Linked DNA regions of Homo sapiens: region 2 is linked to region 1. The links are contacts of gene promoters, found by promoter capture Hi-C in blood cells and fetal thymus (Javierre and others, 2016). All regions are on one chromosome and are shown on one strand. The core of a region is centred on a gene start or on the middle of the fragment in contact, and the rest is flanking DNA. Distances in the headings are between cores, read along the strand shown.

What was found. Contacts are between HindIII fragments. The CHiCAGO score rates a contact against its expected background, and 5 or more counts as called.
Region 2: a contact is called between a fragment that was not itself captured here and the fragment with the promoter of DANT1 in region 1, in 4 of 17 cell types (erythroblasts, megakaryocytes, fetal thymus and 1 more). The highest score is 8.3, in erythroblasts.

The regions. Positions count from the first base shown.
Region 1 is chrX:115,839,045-115,842,742 of GRCh38, forward strand. DANT1 (DXZ4 associated non-coding transcript 1, proximal) reads left to right here and starts at 1,920. Exons shown (of 2, transcript NR_147173.1): 1 at 1,920-2,034. It overlaps DANT2 (DXZ4 associated non-coding transcript 2, distal), which reads right to left. Exons shown (of 2, transcript NR_132337.1): 2 at 1,352-1,536. RefSeq lists enhancers at 1,634-2,233, 2,234-2,832. The HindIII fragment of the contact is 4,420 bases long and covers 1,624-3,698 here.
Region 2 is chrX:115,331,170-115,334,867 of GRCh38, forward strand. No RefSeq gene overlaps it. Among named protein-coding and RNA genes, the nearest start is that of LUZP4, 43 kb to the left of the region's middle. The HindIII fragment of the contact is 1,596 bases long and covers 1,123-2,718 here.

The DNA of each region.
Region 1 (3,698 bases), core at 670-3,169:
GCAAAACCATTTAGCCTCTGTAGACCTTGGTTTCCTGGCACAATGAGTGCTTATTGAATCTGTCCGTTCAGGGAATGTAGACAGAAAAAAGGCTATGACTTAGTTCTCTGTGTCAGGCGATGGACATTCCTCCCTTAAATAAAGGAGGAGAAAGACAGGGAAGTATCCAGAGAGGGGCAGCTGAGATTCATAGCTCAGTTACTTTTTGGGTAATTCCACCTGGGGTGAGGGGAAAGCTCTTTTCAGTTTCCATTTTCTACAACGTGGAGTTGTGGCAGAGCCTTAAACCCTCCCCCAACTCTCCCCTTAGCAGGTGAAGGCAGCTGCCTGACAAGAATAAAGCATCACCTGTGCCCATTTATGCTCCTCCTCCCCCCACCTCCTGGTAATTCCCACCCACCTCTGCCCAAACCGCAAGGGAATGAGTAAGAGAAAAGGTCTGGGAGTATCTGGCAGCAGGTGGTCTTGGGGTGGGGGTGGCGGACTGAGAGTGTGAACGTCAGTTGGTGAGGAGTGAAATGGAGCCAGGAAATTCTGAGAAGTTGGAGCTGGTCAAAGACCAGTTGTAGTGCCCTCAGAGGCCTTAGATTTCTTTTTAAGTGTCTCTTTTAAGGTGAGTTCACTGGAGAGTGTACCTGGGCAGGAATGACTTTGGTTCCCACTGAAAACACGTTTCCATTTGTGAAAAAAAAAATTCTCCCAAAAACCAATCAAGGACTACATTGTGAAGAGAAAAAAAAAATTCCACAACATCTTCACAGTCAAGTTTTTAAGCAACCCGAATAGCTTGCATGATTCCCATGAGCCTTGGGAACTCACCAGGCTATTATTTTTAAAGGACCTTTATTTGCATCTCCCCTCCCCTTAGGGAACAAGGTGCTGGGAGGATGCATGCCCCAAGTTAACACTCCTCAGAGTACTGTCATCAACAGATTATCTTCATTTTCCTTAATACGCTACAGGTGTCTCCATTCTGCAAGAGCAGCAAGTCCCTTTTTTTTTTTTTTTTTTTTTTTGAGACGGAGTTTTGTTCTTGTTGCCCAAGCTGGAGTGCAATGGCGCGATCTCGACTCACCACAACCTCCGCCTCCCAGGTTCAAGCGATTCTCCTGCCTAGGCCTCCTGAGTAGCTGGGATTACAGGCATTCGCCACCAAGCCCGGCTAATTTTGTATTTTCAATAGAGACAGGGTTTCTCCATGTTGGTCAGGCTGGTCTCGAACTCCCGACTTCAGGTGATCCACCCGCCTCGGCCTCCCAAAGTGTTGGATTACAGGCGTGAGCCACCGCGCCCGGCCGCAAGTCCCTTTTTTCAAAAGAAAATATCAATCAGAGGACTGGTCAGGCAGGGGAAACCTGCGAGTCGCTGTCACTCCTTCGGCCTCAGCACATCCCCACCCACCTAGGCGGCATACGCGCCACCAGCAGCATCCCCTGGAAGGCTGCAGAAGCAGCGCTGGGCCCCTAGCAGTTCCAGAAAAAAAGTGGGAGGTGACAGGGCACCGGCAGTGTCTGGTCTTGGGAAGACGCCTCTCACCTGGGGAGGGAACAATTGAAGCTTTCAATAACGTCAGGCATACAGATGATACAAACTTATAACATCGCCTGAAAGTGTACTTGCTTAAGCTTCTTTTTCCTCTAAACCGTTTTGTGAATGTTAAACAGTAAACTTTTCATTTTCTCGATACATCAGTCTCCTTTGCCCTCTTGCCAGCGAAGACCTTACTCAAAGGAAACAAATGGGACAAATAGGTACTCCTCAGCAATTAGCTAAGACAAGAGGTTTCCCACCCAACTTTCCCAAAGCTGCCTCTCTCCGCCCCTTCTTGCACCAGGAGCAGGCTGAGGACACCCCACTCCTACCCTGGGCGGAGCCGGCTCTAGGAAGACCGGATTCCTCTCCCTTCCCCTCCCCGGATTCTTTCAGCCCTCACCTCCCAGGAATGGGGAGGGGGCATCCTACCCCATATCTGAGGTGCGACTGCGGGACGTAGAGCGGACTGGGCCTTTCCCGTTGGCGCGTGGCCTCAATCAGGTAGGTCTCCTTCGCCTTTTCTTTCCTTTATTTGCCTTTCCTTTCCTTGACACAGGACACGAGATCAGGGTTTGTGCCATGGGCAGCCTTTCTGGTGCAGAGGACCTTCCCTGCCCTCCGGCTTCTGGGCAGCCAGTGCCGGGCGCGCGACCTTGTGCAATGGCGGCTGCAGCCGAGCTGGCTCCAGCGTCCTGCAGGCATCGGAGGGCTTTCGGGCGCGTTTTGGACGCCGAGTTTTTGCCGCTGCCTAAGTTTTAGTTCTGGCAAGTGTAGGGAGGTCCTTCTAGTAGAGCCTTTCTGGCCTTCCCCGTCGGGAGCCTGGAAGCGTCTCCTGTGGCAGGGCGGGCAGAGGGAGAAGGGTGCGCCTGCAGATTTCTTCGCCCCACTGGTGTTCTCCCCACCTACATGGCTGAGGAGGTGTGCGCTCTCGTTCGGTTTAGATTGAGTGGTTGTTAAACCACGTGGCTGCCCTGCCCACAGGCAGGGCTCCCCGTAATGTAAAACTGTAGAAGAAACATTTCCTCTAACGAATAATTGAACAAAAAGAAATACAGCTTCAGGCCGGGCGCAGTGGCTCACGCCTGTAATCCCAGCACCTTGGAAGACTAAGGCGGGAGAATCACTTGAGACCAGGAGTTCGAGTCCAGCCTGGCCAACATGGTGAAACGCCGTCTCTAAACAAAAATTAGCCACGCATGATGCCGCGGGCCTGTAGTTCCAGCTACTCTGGAGGCTGGGGCGGGAGGATTGCTTGTGCCCAGGACTTTGCGACTGCAGTGAACTGGGATTGCTCCATTGCACTCCATCTTGGGCATCAGAGCCAGAGCCCTTCTTTTAAAAAAAGAAAGAAAAACGGCAATATACTTCATTTCCATATATGCACTTAACAACGTGGAAGGACAAGCCCTCAAAATTTTCAGGGACTTGCCTGGGCGAGGTGGCTCACACATTTAATCCCTGGACTTTGGGAGGCCAAGGCGGGCGAATCACAGGGTCAGGAGTTCGAGACTAGCCTGGCCAACATGGTGAAACCCCGTCTCTACTAAAAATACAAAAAAATAGCTGGGTGTAGTGGCGGGTGCCTCTAATCCCAGATACTCGGGAAACTGAGGCAGAAAAATCGCTTGAACCCGGGAGGGGGAGGTTGCAGCGAGATGATAACCTGCCAATGCACTCCAGCCCTGGTGACAGAGTGAGATTCCGTCTCAAACAACAAAAATTTCAGGGCTTTCACATTTTCATCTTTCTACAGTTCTGTAAAATAGGATTTGAAATGGCCGTGATTATTAATGAAATAAAAAGAAGATTATAAAGAAATAATTTAAGGTATCAAAGATGATAGAAGATAGTCATAATAATACAAAATATCGATACAAGTTGGACAAATTATGTAGACAAAGAGTCAAAAAGGAAAGAAAACACAATTACATTGGTTATTTCTAGAGGGCAGTGCTCAGTGTGTGTGTGTATTTGTATGTGCATATGTTTCTTGTTACTGATACTGAGGCAAAAGTTTGGCTTTCTTTTCTCTTCCCTTCTCTGATTCTTTCCTCCTTTCTTGATAGGGAGTCTTCCTCTGTCACCCAGGCTGGAATGCTGTGGCACCTTCAAGACTCACTACAGCCTCAACTTTCTGGCCTCCAGCAATCCTCCAAACACATCCT
Region 2 (3,698 bases), core at 671-3,170, 510 kb before region 1:
GAACTTTAAACGCCTGTTCGCTTTTTAAATTCAAATATCCCTCAGGGAATTTGAATTGTTATAGGTTTTTGTGTTTTGTTTTGTTTTTGAGACAAGGTCTTGCTCTGTCCCCCAGGCTGGAGTGCAGTGGCATGATCTCGGCTCACTGCAACCTCCACCTCCCGGGTTCAAGCGATTCTTGTGCCTCAGCCTCCCAAGTAGCTGGGACTACAGGCTCGTGCCACAGCACGAGGCTAATTTTTGCATTTTTAGTAGAGACGAGGTTTCACCATGCTGGCCAGGCTGGTCTTGAACTCCTGACCTCAGTGGATCTGCCCACCTTGGCCTCCCAAAGTGCTGGGATTACAGGCGTAAGCCACCGTGTCTGGCCATGAGTTGTCATAGAATTTTAGTGTCGTAAATCGTAATAAAATATAGTTTTATTTTGATTTTAAGGAAATAAATCTGGGACTAAGGGCTTAAACAACTTTCCCATGATTAGATAGCTACTTAGTGGCAGAGCTAAATGAAACAAGGCCTAGGTCTCCTACCTTCAGCCCACTGTAGGCTTTATGTTTATTTAGGTTCTGCTATTATATATATCATACTGCTTTTTTTTATGAATATATACCTTGCAATAGTACGCTGTCTGGGGCTCGCTTTAAAATATTTTAGAAATCAATCACCCATTCAGCAAAATATATAAATTATGTATAATTTATAAATAAATATTAGCTGGGCATGATGAGGCAGCCGCAGTCCCAGGTACTCGGGAGGCTGAGATGGGAGGATTGCTTGAGCCAGGGAGGCAGAGGCTGCAGTGAGCCGAGATCATGCCACTGCACTACAGCCTGAGTTATGGAGTGACACCCTGCCTCAAAAAAAAAAAAAAAAAAGAAAAAGAAAAAAACAAGAAATTTATAAATAAATAATATACAGTATATGAAATTATATAATAAATATAATAAAGTTTTTTTAAGAGTATATCTTATTGAGATACCAAGGAAGGAACATTAAAAAAGATGGAATGGAAAATGGAGAGGTTGAGGATGAGGACAAATTTCTTCCAGTTACTTCTTCATCTACTGGTGATGCTTGACTGAATCAGCTGTGTGATCTTAGGGAAGTCATTTCCCCTCTATAAGCTTGTTTCTTCATCTGGTAAGTGAGGTCTTTAGGAACGATGGCCCTAAAGGTACCTGGAAGCAATATGCATCTCAGCTCCCTACGAAAACCCCCAAATATTTAAATTCCTCTTTGGATTTTCTGAAAGGGATGGCAAAAGAAGCCTCAGATCAGGTAGAGCCCCATGGTTCTGACTAAATCATTTCTGACAGCTAGGCAGTTCCACGGCCCCACAGTTCCTCAGAATGCTCCAAAGCCACCAGTTCTGAACTGGGACTGAAGTCTTTAGGAAGCAGCCATACTTAGTGTTGCAGTTTCCCCATAGCTTAAGGGTACCCAAGGAACATGGCTATGTACCACTCCCATGGCTCCCCGAGGCTTCCATTTAAATGTAAGAACACAGACTGAGGTGGACCAAAGTTTAAATCCCACCTCTGCCACTTCCTAGACGTGTATGATCTTAGTTATTTCTAGTTCTCAATCTCCCCATAAATAAAACTGTTGGGAAAATTCAGTATTCAATAAAGGTGAGTAAGAAGGTAGATAGAGAGGTAGACAGAGAGGTGATAGGATAATATATTTGAGATATTGAATTTTTGCCCTCCAGGAGTTCGCCCCCTTCCCATTCAAAGTGCTAGTCATTTCGGTACTCATTTTCTCAGTGGTGGCATGTGACTATCATAAGGCATAAACAGTAAGATCTTTCTGACTTAAGAGGGCAAAATCTTCAGGCAGTGGTGTGCTGGAGCCGGTTCCAACTGGCTCCTTGAGCTAAAATTAACCATTTTAAAGTAAACAACTCAGTGGCGCACATCTTGTTCCAAAACATTTCCATCAATCACTACAAAATAAAACCCCACACCAATTAAGAAGTTACTCCCCATTCATCCTCCTTTCAGGCTCTGGTAACAACCATTCTACTTTTCATTTCTCTGGATCTTCCTATTCTGGATATTTCATATAAGTGGAATCGTGTGCCCTTTTGTTCCTGACTTCTTTCACCTAGTGTGACGTTTCTAAAGTTCATCCACTTTGTAGCATGTATCAGTACTTCATTCCTTTTTACGGCTGAATAATGTTCCATTGTATGAATATACCACTTTTGTTTGTCCATTCATTAATTGATGGACATTTGGACTGTTTCCTCTTTTTAGTTGTTATGAATAATACTACTGTGAACATTCCTGTATAATTTTTTTTGTGTAAACATATGTTTTAAATTTTCTTGGGTATATATATGGGAGTCGAATTTCTGGGTCATATGGTGACTGTGTTACCAGAGTTGTGAATAAATGCCTACAATCAGCCATCAAGAGCTATTTGGAAATCAGTACGTGGAAAGATATTCAACATCATTAGCCCTGGGAAGGGGGAAATGTAAACCAAACCACAATGAGATAACACGTCACATCCACTAGGCAGATAATAACAAGTGTCAGGGAGGATGCAGAGAAACTGAAACCCTCATACATTGCTAGTGAGATTGTAAAATGGTGCCGCTGCTTTGGAAAACAGTCTGGTAGTTCCTCAAACGGTTAAACTTCGAGCCTTCATTTGTGAATGCCTCCTGGGCATGGGAGGGGGTGGTCAGGCCCTGAACAGAATAGCTAGAGAAGCTTCTTCCCTCCTCCCCCTGGGATGAGATAATCATTAAACACATGCCCATTCAGATAGACAGATGGATATGTGGATCTGATATTCACCTCTTTGGTGTCACCTCACATCTTATTCCCACCCCCATCCCCAATTCTCACCTTCCTGAGTGGTAGATATCCTACTGCAATGCAAATTCTCTCCAAAACAACTAATGCAGAAAAGGTAATCCATGGTTTCCCCTCTTTGTTATAACTGATTTTCTGGGGGGTTTTTGGAAGTGCGAGCAGAGACTTACCATGTAACTTACATATGCAGTTCACATTACGTATTGTCCTGCCACTGGATCTGATTGCCACCATTCCACTCCTGGAAATGCCCACTTCATTCCTTTCATCCTGTCTAGCTCCTTCCCATCCTGTGAGATCCAGGTCAAATCTCGTGCCCTCTGTAAAATTTTTCCTCAGTTAAATCCAGGATAAAAGTGCCCAGTGACTGGGTAGCATAGCTCCCGGATATCCTAGTACTCGTAACTAAACACCGTAAAATGCTGCTTTTAAAAACTTAATATAGTGAAGCACATGATTTTTTTTGGATTTATGTTCCACTTTATGCTAAAGACATGGTGGCAGGCACAAAGAGTTTAAGAAATAGTTAAGGGGCCGGGCGGGATGGCTCACGCATGTAATCCTAGCACTTTGTGGGGCCGAGGCAGGTGGATGGCTTAACCTCATGAGCTCAAGACAAGCCTGGGCAACAAGGTGAAACCCGTCTCTACAAAAAATACAAAAATTAGCCATGCGTGGTGGCATGCGCCTGTAGTCCCAACTACTTGGGAGGCTGAGACAGGAGGATCGCTTGAGCCCAGGAGGTTGAGGCTGCAGTGAGCTGAGATCGCTCCACTGCACTCCAGCCTGGGTGACAAAGTGAGTACCTGTCAAAAAAAAAAAAAGAAAGAAAGAAAGGAAAAGAAAAGAAAGAAATGGTTAAGGGAGATAAGT